Linked DNA regions of Homo sapiens: region 1 is linked to region 2. Evidence: promoter capture Hi-C in human tissues and cell types (Jung and others, 2019). All regions are on one chromosome and are shown on one strand. The core of a region is centred on a gene start or on the middle of the fragment in contact, and the rest is flanking DNA. Distances in the headings are between cores, read along the strand shown. Region 1 overlaps INPP5D (inositol polyphosphate-5-phosphatase D). Region 2 holds the start of PDE6D (phosphodiesterase 6D).

Evidence for each region. Contacts are between HindIII fragments. The study calls those that stand out against the background at their distance.
Region 1: a fragment that was not itself captured here is called in contact with the fragment with the promoter of PDE6D in region 2 in 1 of the 25 tissues and cell types used here (H1 embryonic stem cells).

The regions. Positions count from the first base shown.
Region 1 is chr2:233,082,241-233,087,836 of GRCh38, reverse strand. The region is part of intron 2 of INPP5D (inositol polyphosphate-5-phosphatase D); the gene reads right to left. Among named protein-coding and RNA genes, the nearest start is that of INPP5D, 25 kb to the right of the region's middle. RefSeq lists enhancers at 2,964-3,013, 5,384-5,533 and a silencer at 3,004-3,298. The HindIII fragment of the contact is 4,211 bases long and covers 2,131-5,596 here.
Region 2 is chr2:231,777,293-231,782,739 of GRCh38, reverse strand. It overlaps PDE6D (phosphodiesterase 6D), which reads left to right and starts at 1,458. Exons shown (of 5, transcript NM_002601.4): 1 at 1,458-1,675. The coding sequence starts at 1,626. It also overlaps a transcript of COPS7B not described here. RefSeq lists enhancers at 1,432-1,661, 2,212-2,291 and silencers at 1,872-1,921, 2,045-2,268. The HindIII fragment of the contact is 5,328 bases long and covers 1-3,064 here.

The DNA.
Region 1 (5,596 bases), core at 2,987-5,486, 1.3 Mb before region 2:
GTGGAGGACAAATTTAAGATTGATGACTACAGCAAGGGTGAGATAAATCATAATTTTAAGTGAAACCTGTAGCACTTTCTATCTTCTTAATGGTGGCAGAAGAGTTAATTCATTCAATAAGTATTTATCAAGCACTCACTACATGCTAGGAATAGTTCTAGTATAGATGATAAATAAGTCAATATAAAAATGTATATTTTCAAATACCTCAGGGCTGGGCATGGTGGCTCACACCTGTAATCCCAGCACTTTGGGAGGCTGAGGCGGGCAGATCACAAGGTCAAGAGGTCGAGACCATCCTGGGCAACATGGTGAAACCCTGTCTCTACTAAAAACACAAAAATTAGCTGGGTGTGGTGGCATGTGCCTGTAGTCCCAGCTACTCGGGAGGCTGAGGCAGGAGAATCACTTCAACCCGGGAGGCAGGGGTTGCAGTGAGCTGAGCCGAGATTGTGCCACTGCACTCCAGCCTGGTGACAGAGTGAGACTCCGTCTCAAAAAAATAAATAAATAAATAAATATAATATAAAATCAGGTAGTCACAAGTGCCACAAAGAAAAGAAAGGAGGGTAAGGGGTTAAAGAGCAACAGGTGAAGGGTGGGGTGACTATTTTTCTGGGGTGATCAAGTGAGGCCTCTCAGAAAGACTTTCTTCTATTTGGCAAACCCGAAGTGGCCTCTTGCAAATCTGACAGACACAATTAGACCCGGAAGCTGATCTCGAAGGGCAAAGTCAAGATGAGAAGCGAAACCATCCTGCAATAAGCAAGAAATCATGCCTCCCCAGTGCACAGACATTGTTAAAATACTGATTGATTTTTGTGCTTTTTCTGGTCAGGGTTAGAGAAAGAGATGTTGAGCCCAAGGATGTCTGACAGGAACATAAGTCATTAGGAATGTCTGGGACAGGGCTGGAGCAGGTCCCAGAAACACGACACAGGCTAAGGAGAAGGAAGACCCAGAGACTGTGTTGTCAGACCGTGGCTCATGGGCATTTGGTGCAGTGAAACTCGATATTCAATTTGAAATTTTCACTTTTCTGCTTTGAAATTCCCCTGGGATAGTTTAAACCTTTGTAAGTTAGGACACTTTTAGCTGTTAGAAAACCCTAACTCAACTAACTTGAGCAAAAAGAAATTAATTAACTCACAAAACAGAAAATCTAGAGGAGGGCAGATCCCAGGTTGCTTCATTCTGTTCAGCAAATTCAAGGGCATCATCCAGGACCCAGGTTCACTTCTCCTTTCCGTGTGTTGGCCTCACTCGCCAGCTACCTCTCCTCATGGTTACAAGGCAGCAGCAGAGACCCAGCTATCACATCCTATGGCAGCTTCCAAAGGTAGGAAAGAGGCTATCTTGGCTGGGTGCGGTGGCTCACACCTGTAATCCCAGCACTTTGGGAGGCCAAGGCGAGCAGATTACCTGAGGTCAGGAGTTCGAGACCAGCCTGACCAACATAGTGAAGTCCCATCTCTTCTAAAAATACAAAAATTAGCCCGGCATGGTGGCAGGTGCCTGTAATCCCAGCTACTTGGGAGGCTGAGGCAGGAGAATCACTTGAACCCAGGAGGCGGAGGTTGTGGTGAGCCGAGATCATGCCATTGCCCTCCACCCTGGGCAACAAGAGCGAAACTCTGTCTCAAAAAGGAAAGAAAGAAAGAAAGAAAGAAAGAAAGAAAGAAAGAAAGAAAGAAAGAAAGAAAGAAAGAAAGAAAGAGGCTATCTTATCCCTATGTCTGTTTTTAAGACAAACAGACCTTTACTAGAAGCCCACAAAGCCCTTCTCTTCACATCTCATTGGTTACACTTGCATCCCATTCCCCAGTCTAAACTTATCGGCTACATGGTGCATGTTGATGTTAGTTCTAGACCGCTTTGGGTAACAAAGACAGGAAACAGGCCCATGATCTGGGGCAAGGTGAACCAGAAGGCTCTGGAACATGGAGAAACAAGGACAAAATGGCTAGTGGGGATGGGGAGAAAATAAAGACAGTCATTTGGAGGTAGAGATGACAAATGGCATGGATACTCTTTCCAGAATTCTCTGACAGACTGGGGAAGGGATTAGGGATCTTGCAGCCACACAAGAGGGAGGGGCTGCTCAGTCACAAAGGCATGTGTACCCCAGGGGGCTAGAAAACGGGGGGAGGCTTGGCTTTCTCAGGGGATTAGAAGAAAGATGCCAGAAGAGCTGGAATAAAAACTTACTCAAAGACCTAACAGAAGAAAGGTCTTTTGTGTCAAAGAACAGAGTTTGCAAAGTGAACAAGCCGAACACATTGCAGGTACTATCAATGAAAGGAAAATGACAACACTGGAAAAGAATTCCCACCGGCTTCAAAGTAGAAAAAAAGAAAAAAATGGGTCGCCTCTATAGGAACCAGCACAAGTTTGGCCTTGGATTTTGTACTCGGAACTATTCATAACGCTACATTCTTTTTTTTTTTTTTCTTTGAGACAGTCTTGCTCTGTCACCCAGCTGGAGTGCAGTGGTGAGACCTCAGCTCGCTGCAGCCTCTGCCTCTCAGGTTCAAGCGATCCTCCCACCTCAGCCTCCGGAGTAGCTGTGACTACGGGCATGCACCACCACACCCGACTAAGTTTTGCATTTTTAGTAGAGACGGGGTTTCACCATGTTGCCCAGGCTAGTCCCAAACTCCTGACCTCAGGTGATCCACCTGCCTCAGCCTCCCAAAGTGCTGGGATTACAGGAGTGAGCCACTGCACCCAGCCTGTAACACTACATTCTTGAAGGTAGTGCTGTACCTTTTACAGGATTTTGAGCGAACAGTTGGTTCCAAGAATTTTATATCTATCAAATTACTCTTGAATGTGTAGACAACTAAAGATGTTTTGAGATATTCAGAGGCTTGGAAAATAGATCTGTCCATATTCTGCAGTAGACAGAAAAACCAATTCAAAATGCAGGCTTCTAGAAGGTGAGTGTCAGAGCATAAAGGAACCCCTCCACCAGCACGGACCCCCTTGGGGCCCATTGTCCTTGGCATGGCTGTGGAGCCCACACAGGGCAGCCCTGGCCGTGCTAGGCTTCTATGCCCTGAACCTTTTCTGTGCCCCTTGTTGTGCAACTTCAGGAAGTGTGTTAGAGCCACATCCTTTGCCCGGCGGCTCAGACGGAATCTTTACTTCACTCAGTGACCACTCAGAACAATAACAGCTGCCACTCGCTTCCTGAGCTTAATAACAATGGCTCAACCGTTCACCTCCCGGATGCTTGTGACGGAACAGCTTTTAGAAAGTTGTTTTGTTTTCCCTCTCCAAAAGCCATGTCGCCCGGAGATACGTGACAGCCACCGTCAGGGACCAGGGACTTGAGTCACAAGTGTCTCTTCTTTAGAACTCACCGGAATGGCTCAGACCACTGGATTTTTTCTTCCAAATCGGGAAAGAATAATGAAAGGGTCTATGAGATAGATATTTTCTAACTCTTCATCTAAACTTGCATGAAAACCTGGGAGTGTGGCTGGGCATGGTGGCTCACGCCTGTAATCCCAACACTTTGGGAGGCTGAGGCGGGTGGATCACTTGAGCCCAGGCGTTTGAGACCAGCCTGGGCAACATAGTGAAACCCTATCTCTACAGAAAAATACAAAATTTAGCTGGGCATAGTGGTGCACACCTGTAATCTCAGCTACTCAGGAGACTGAGGTGGGAGAATTGCTTGAGCCTGGGAGCAGAGGTTGCAGTGAGCCGAGGTCGCGCCACTGCACTCCAGCCTGGTCTACAGAACAAGACCCTGTCTCAAAAACAAAACAAAACAAAACAGAAAAACACCTGGGGGTGCTCCCATCTTGACTGAAACAATCAATATCCTAGATACAATCTCAACCTCAAGAAAAGACAGGAAGTTCACAGAGAACATTGATGTGATAGGGGATTATGGGTAGTTCTAATTTTCTGCTTTATTCCTCTCGGTGGGAAGGATGTTAGAAAGGACGCAAGGGCCAAAAGGTTGTAGGGTGGAGCCGAAGGGCCTCTTTTGCTTCAACTGTGGCCCTAGGTTTGAGACAGCCATTTATGCGACACGTCTGAGGCCACTCCAGGCCTCCCTGGCCACCCTGGAGCTGGCCCATGAGGGCGGCTTGCAGGACCTCAGACTCTTCCTTACTTTCCCAAAGAGGGGCCATTTCAAAGGCAGCAGCAGCCTCCCAGCTCAGTCTGCAGCGAGCAGCTCAAGATAGGCACCGCTTCTCTTAGGGGAGAGTCACTTCCCTTTCCAAGTCAAGAAAGGAGTTTTGGCTTTACAAGAAACCCACTCTCTTGGTGTGGGACAGTCAGGCCTGCGGGGCTGAGCCGTTCTGCCTTCGTCTGGCCTCACACAGGGCTCAGAGCACTGCCCCAACCCTCCCCCAACCAGGAAAAGCAGTGCAAGCTGAGTCCAGAAGGTTCTCAGGGTTTGAGTGGCACAGCAGCTGTTGAACAACTGCTTAACAGTTCCAGAGCGTACTCAGGTCCCTGAAGACATGAAGCCCATAGCCCAAAGAGCAGAGCTGAGGGAGATGGAGTTCCAAAATTTACCCCTCCTTCCCCACCACTCCCAGCACTGCCTAGAATGCTCTAAAGCACCTCCAGCTCCCTGCTGTCTCCACCCTCCTCCCCAGCAGCTTCCTTGTGCTGGGAGGTATGTGTGTGATCTCTACTTTCCAGCAGTTTCTTGGCAGTCCTTGCCCAAGGCCACATCGCTGACCAAATTGGACTTGAACCCAGATCCCAGCCGGGAATGGAGTCTGCTTTCATTCTAGGGGCACCTCACTGATTTACCACAAGGGACAGATGCCACCTGGGATCAAATATTATCTATAACCATGTGAAGGGCAAGAGGCCAAGCTCTCTGAGAGGCCACATTGCCCTGTCTCCCTGTCCCTCTGGGCAGAGTCCTGGGCTCATCCTTCCCCAGGGGACTCCAGACAGGCTTGGAAACACCTTCTGGATTGGAAGGAAGAAAGCTTAGCCGGGGAGGCCGGGAGGCCTGGCTGTGAGTTCCAACTTCCGCAGTTCTCAGCAACACTCATATTTAGAACGAGGGGGTTGGATGAAGTTACAGTTTGCATCCTGCCCTCCCATCTCGGATTTTTTTTAAGTCTGTGAAAGATGGAGTGAGAGAAAAGAGTCCCCCAGGTGAGGCAGCTCCTCTCCCTGATTGATACAGGGCTGTCATGGGCTATGACACGTGGGCCAACTCCATGAAGTTGGTCTGCAAAGAACAAAGATGAGATCTTTGGTGTTGACAAGAGAACAGAAGTCCCCAGGAAAAGAGCTAAAGTTACTAAACTAAGAAACAATGAAAGCCTTTCGGTGCTTCACTTGGCAAAATTTCAGGCCAGATTCTTATTTTGGGGAGCCTCGTATTCTGGTGGCACTGAACAGGCTCAGGTGTCAGGAATGAGTTATTTAGAAACTGTGGCTAAGCTCAGAAAAGACTGTGAGGTTTTGCCTCAACATGAAAAGAGGAACTTGAGTTAAAATAGGCAGAGATCAATAACTGCTAAAGCTTCCCCGAAGGGCTCTGAGTCTGCTTAATTGGGCATGAGTGTGCACTTGGTCCTCAGTGGACGTCTGCTGTCATTTACTCTTG
Region 2 (5,447 bases), core at 209-2,708:
CTCCTTAGCATTCTGATGTCATTTCTTTATGCCATTTTATCACACTCCATCTTGAATCTCAGTGGAGTCTCCTTATTTCCCTAAATATATGTTCATCTTCCTGGTGGCAGTGACCATGTCCTTCACCTTTTACCCACTCAGTGCCTGACAAATAACAGGCTGAAAAGATATTTGTTGAATTACATGGAAGAAAAAATTGGGTGAGTTCCCAGATGGGTGAAAGTGGGGACAGGCAGAGGAAGGAAGGCCAAGAGAAGGACAGAGGAGGTTTCCAAGGAAACCGTGGCTCACACTGTAATTTTACCTACTTCCTGAAATCACATTAAATGTCACCTTGAGTGGCAAAAAACAAAACACCAAATCCTACCTAGGCTGAAAATAAATAAATATCACACTCCCTCACTCGCAAGAAATCCACCAAATAAATGCTACCTAATTCTGGGTGTTTCAACAGTGGATAGGAAAACCGTTCAAGGAGAATAATTCACATTGCCATGCTGCTAAAAATATCACCTCCTTAGTGTGGTGCAAAGAGTCCAGACTGCAAGTCAGCCGACTTAGGGCTGAATTCTAACTCTGCCCGAACTTGCTGTGATCTGTGGCCAATCCCTTCGCCTCTCTGGGCCTCAATTTCCTCATACGTAACAACAGGGGATAGATTAGCAAAGTCCCTTTATGTTTTGATATTCTGAGTATACAATCCATAGCTCTCCCGGTGCAAACCAGGAATACAGCAAAAAACCCTGAAATACATGTAAAAGGCGCCTCAGACCAACAAACAAGCACGATTTGAAGAAGTCATTTTGTTCTCTTTCACGGTTTAATCAGTGTTTTTGTTTGTTGTTTGCAGCCTTACCATGATTTGCAGATGTCTGAGTTCCATGTAAACAGAAGTTAACTCTCTGCGGGCTGTCATCTTCTTTTGAGGGTGAGAAGGGTCTTCCCGTTGGGTTTCAAGTCTCGGGATTCCGAAACGACCAACTCAGCGGGCGGGTTTGTGAATTTGCGCACACTGCGCGGCACACTGGAGTCTAAGTTACAGAGGAACCGAGTGCAGGGGATGCTGGGATTTGTAGTCCCCGGGCCTCTTTGTGGTGCGCTGGGATCTGTGGTCCCCCGAGTGCGCCGCTGGAATGCTGGGAAATGTAGTCTCTGTCGCGTCGCACAGTGCAACTCAGCTGCCGTCTCAGACGGCTAGTGTGCTCAGTGGCTGGAGCAGGTCCCTAAAGCCTCTGCAGATCCGAAGCCAACCCTCCGCTGGGACAAACTCTAGGCAACAACACCAGATGAATATTGTGTCCTATGGGACTTCCCGGGGAGGGCCCTTCCCATTGACGTTAACAGTCCCCCTGCGAAGCCGCTGCGCGCTCCTACTGGCTGGTTGAGATGCCAATCGCCAAGGCTGGCTTTCCATTGGTTCCAGGAGGGCACTGCGAGGCTAGGGGGAAGGAGAAGGGATCAGAAGCGGGAGCTGAGGGGAGAGAGAGGCCGGTCCTGGTCTGGCCGCTGCGGCTGCTAGCCCGAGGTCTCCAAGCCGGGCTGCGGCTCCATCCTCGGCTCCTGGGCACCGTCTGCGAGGCTCCGCCGACCAGAGTGAGAAAGCCGCGGGCGGCGACCGCCGCATCATGTCAGCCAAGGACGAGCGGGCCAGGGAGATCCTGAGGGGCTTCAAACTGTATCCGTCCGGGAGCGGGGCGGGGCCGGGAGGACTTGGGAGGCGGCCGCTCACTGAGGAGACTGGCCGGGGGCGGGGGCCGCGCCAGGTGGGCCCCACAGAAGAAGGGCCGCGGGAGGGGAGAGGAAAGGAACAGCGTGCCGAGCACCCGGCGGGACCCGGCGCGAGAGGCGCCCCAAGGGGCGTCCTGAGGGAGGAAGGGGACGTTGACGGGAGCGCCGGGGGGTGGCGGGTGGAGACGGGGGAGCCTGGGGGACGGGGCTGCGAGAGGTGCCGGGCGTCGGAAACGCTGTCGGAGAAGCCGGCTGGGTTCCGATCCCCGGCCGGGACCCAGAGGCCGGGATGGGGCTGCGGCCCGCGGAGAAGGGCTGAGGGGGCGCGGTGGGCTGATCTCGAAGCCTAGAAGCCTCTTTGGCTATAAGCCTACCCGGGGAGCGGGGAACAGTGACTTGGAGCGGGCGACCTTGTGTGGGACAAATACCAGTGCTTTTAAAACTCTCTCAGGTCCCCCACCGCACCGCACCGCACCCCACCCCCGTCTGGTTTCCACAACTTCTCTTCCAAACTTGTGGCTTCTTCCAGGACTGGAGTAGTTGGGGGAGGTGGGGAAAGAGAAGTCCAAGATCGACCTCGTCTTAACACTCTTGGCCTTCTCAGGCATTGGTCACTGCTTCCCCCTCAGCGCCTCAGTTTTCTTTCCAGCAAGATGAGGACCATAGGCTTAGGTGTGGGGTGCCTCGCGCTGGGACTCCTAGCCGAGGTGTCTTTGCTCGCTCCTGTCGGTGCGGTTATGCCTAGCTGTGGTGGAGCTGTCCAGCAATGGTGTGATGTCGCTGGGGCCACGGTAGGATAGAGTGGGGTAGAGAAATCATTGCCTCGGGCCTGTTGTGGTGCCCCTTTTGCATCCTCTCCGTAAGGAAGCTTTGTGTTTTCGTGGAGTGTGTTAGTCTGTCACCATATGATGCAGATGAAAAAATGCAAACTTGGATATTCAAATTTTCCATTCTCCTGCCAACTTTAATCTCTTCATGCATCCTATCTGTAATCTATAGTACGAACGTTCTTAAATTGCTCCCTCAGTGAAAAGGTAGTCACCACTTCAGGGCTCCTCCCTTGGAGGTTTAGTAAAGCACTGTTTTCTTGGTATTCTGTTGCGTTTTCACAATGTCCATGTCACGCTTGCAAATTTAATTGCTTTGCTATAATCAGAAACCAAGTTGGTAATACATTTTAGACCACAGTGCAAAAAGGAAGTTTTGGATGTACAAGTGAGATTTTTCGAATGGAAATTGATCTATGCTTTTTAAAAAAACTAAAGGCTGTATCACCTTTGCATACTACCATCTGTGATAAACTTTCAGTACTTTCATGTTTTGGTTTAGTAGCAGCCTCTTTTATAGCTCCATGTGCCTTTCTGTGTTTCTCTCCATAATGGATCAAATAGGTATATAGGGATGACTGAAGTGCTGGAAAAGCTATGACATGGATTTTATTTTTCCCTCAAATAATTTATACTATTAACATCTAACAATGTAATAATATTGCTACTTAACATGCTTTGTAGACAGTAAACCGGAAACTGGAGAATTGAGAGATTTCAGAAGCAACGTTTTCATCTGATTGGAAATACCGTATTGCTGAAAAGAAGAAAGGCCTTTTTAATGGCTTTTGAACAAAGCAGAAAAGTTTGAGCTTCTCACCTTCAGTCTTAGCTCTTGAACCTGTTGAGAAAGAGGATAAGAGACAAATACGGAAAAGAGTTTCAGAAAGCAGAATCTGTGTCAGCCCACTGGAAGGAAAAGCGAATCAACCGATTCAGTGATGTTAGTGCATCCAGAAACAGGCTTTTGGGAAAAGCTTGACCTGAGCTGATTAAATCCTGAAGCACAAGGGAAGCAGCCACATCAAAAAGTTAGCATGAGAGCAGTGGCGTGCTCATCCTCTGGTAGCCTTTACTGGGCATTTGTGGAGTAAGAGAGAAAAGAAAAGCAGGAATGTTAAGATATGCTACTACCTTCAGGAAAAAGTAAAATTAATGTTTTAGTAAGAAACTGACTATTGTCCACCTTTTATTGGGTAAATAGATTTTCTGAACTTTCTTTCAGAGTATCTGTTTCTGTAAGAATAGTTTATCACTGCAAAAAGAGCACCATTATGTTCTCCCACCAGCAGTGTTGATAGTACTCAGTTTTCCACGTTGACTAGGTCAGTCTTTTTTATTTGCCAGTTTGGATAACAAATGATACATTGTTTTAATTGGTATTCTTCTGGATCCCTAGATCCATGAAAAGGTAATGTAGCATAGTGGTTAAGAGCTATACTGGACTATGTCTCTATACTGCCTGCATTGGAATTCCAGCCCTGCGCTCCTAGTTGTGTGTCCCTGAGCAACTGCTTTAACCTCACCTCAATTTTCTTATCTGTAAGATGGGGAAAATAATAGTACCTATCTCATGGGGCTGTAAGAGTAAATGAGTTGATATCTAAAGCATTTAGAAAAGCACCTGATCCACAGTGAGCATTATGCTTTAGCCAGTGTTATTCTTGTTATTATTAGAGAAGTTGCACATCTCTTCTATTTGGCCATTTCTTTTTCTTCTGTAAATTGTTTGTTAATTTTGTTTTTGCCCATTTTACTATTGTTTATTTTTCTTATTTGTAGATGTTCTTTACATATTGTAATATCAATCCTTTGCCTATTATGTATTTTGCAAATATTTTCTTTCAATGTATTGTCTCCTTTTTTGTTGAACAGAATTTTTAAATTGTCATTTCAAATTTATTTTATTTCATTTGTTTGAGACGGAGTCTTGGTCTGTTGCCCAAGTTGGAATGCAGTGGCGCAATCTTGGCTCACTGCAACCTCCGCCTCCCAGGTTCAAGCAATTCTCCTGCCTCAGCCTCCTGAGTAGCTGGGATTACAGGTGCATGCCACCATGCCCAGCTAATTTTTGTATTTTTAATAGAGATGGGGTTTCACCATGTTGGCCAAGCTGTTCTCAAACACCTGACCTCATGATCTGCCTGCCTCTGCCTCCCAAAGTGCTGGGATTACAGGCATGAGCCACCGTGCCTGGCCTCAAATTTATTAATATTTGCCATCTGGCTTTTGCATTTTGTATCTTGTTTAAAAAGATCTTTCTTATCCCAAGATTAACTAAATATCCTATCTTTTCTTCTCTTTTCAATGTTTAGCTCTTTAATCCACCTGGAACGTATTTACACATTTGGTATGTGGTAGACATCTAAGTACTTCTGCTGTTTGGATAGCCAATAGTTCCAGTACTATTTACTAAGTAGTTAGTCCATCTTTTCCTCACTGTTTTGAAATGCCATCCTTGTCATATACTAAATTTTCATAAGACATAGGTTTTTTTTTGGATTATTTCTGTTTCATTGATCTATTTGTCTCTTCTTGTACCTATACACATTTGATTGAATTATTATAGCTTTATAATATGATTTAGTATAGTTTACAATAGAATGGTCTGTGACTAACATAATATGTGTGTTTAAGGTCCCTACAAATATGTGCCCCTTTTGTTCACATGGAAGCTTGCCCATATGCCCATAGTAGATAGAAACATGAGGACTTGGCTGGGCATGGTGACTCACACCTGTAATCCCAGCACTTTGGGAGGCCTAGGTGGGAGGATTGCTCAAGGCCAGGAGTTCAAGACCAACCTGGCCAACATAGCGAGACCCCCAACTCTAAAAAAAAAAAATTTAAAGATACTGCATAAAAGTGAATACTGTATGCATAAATTAGGCA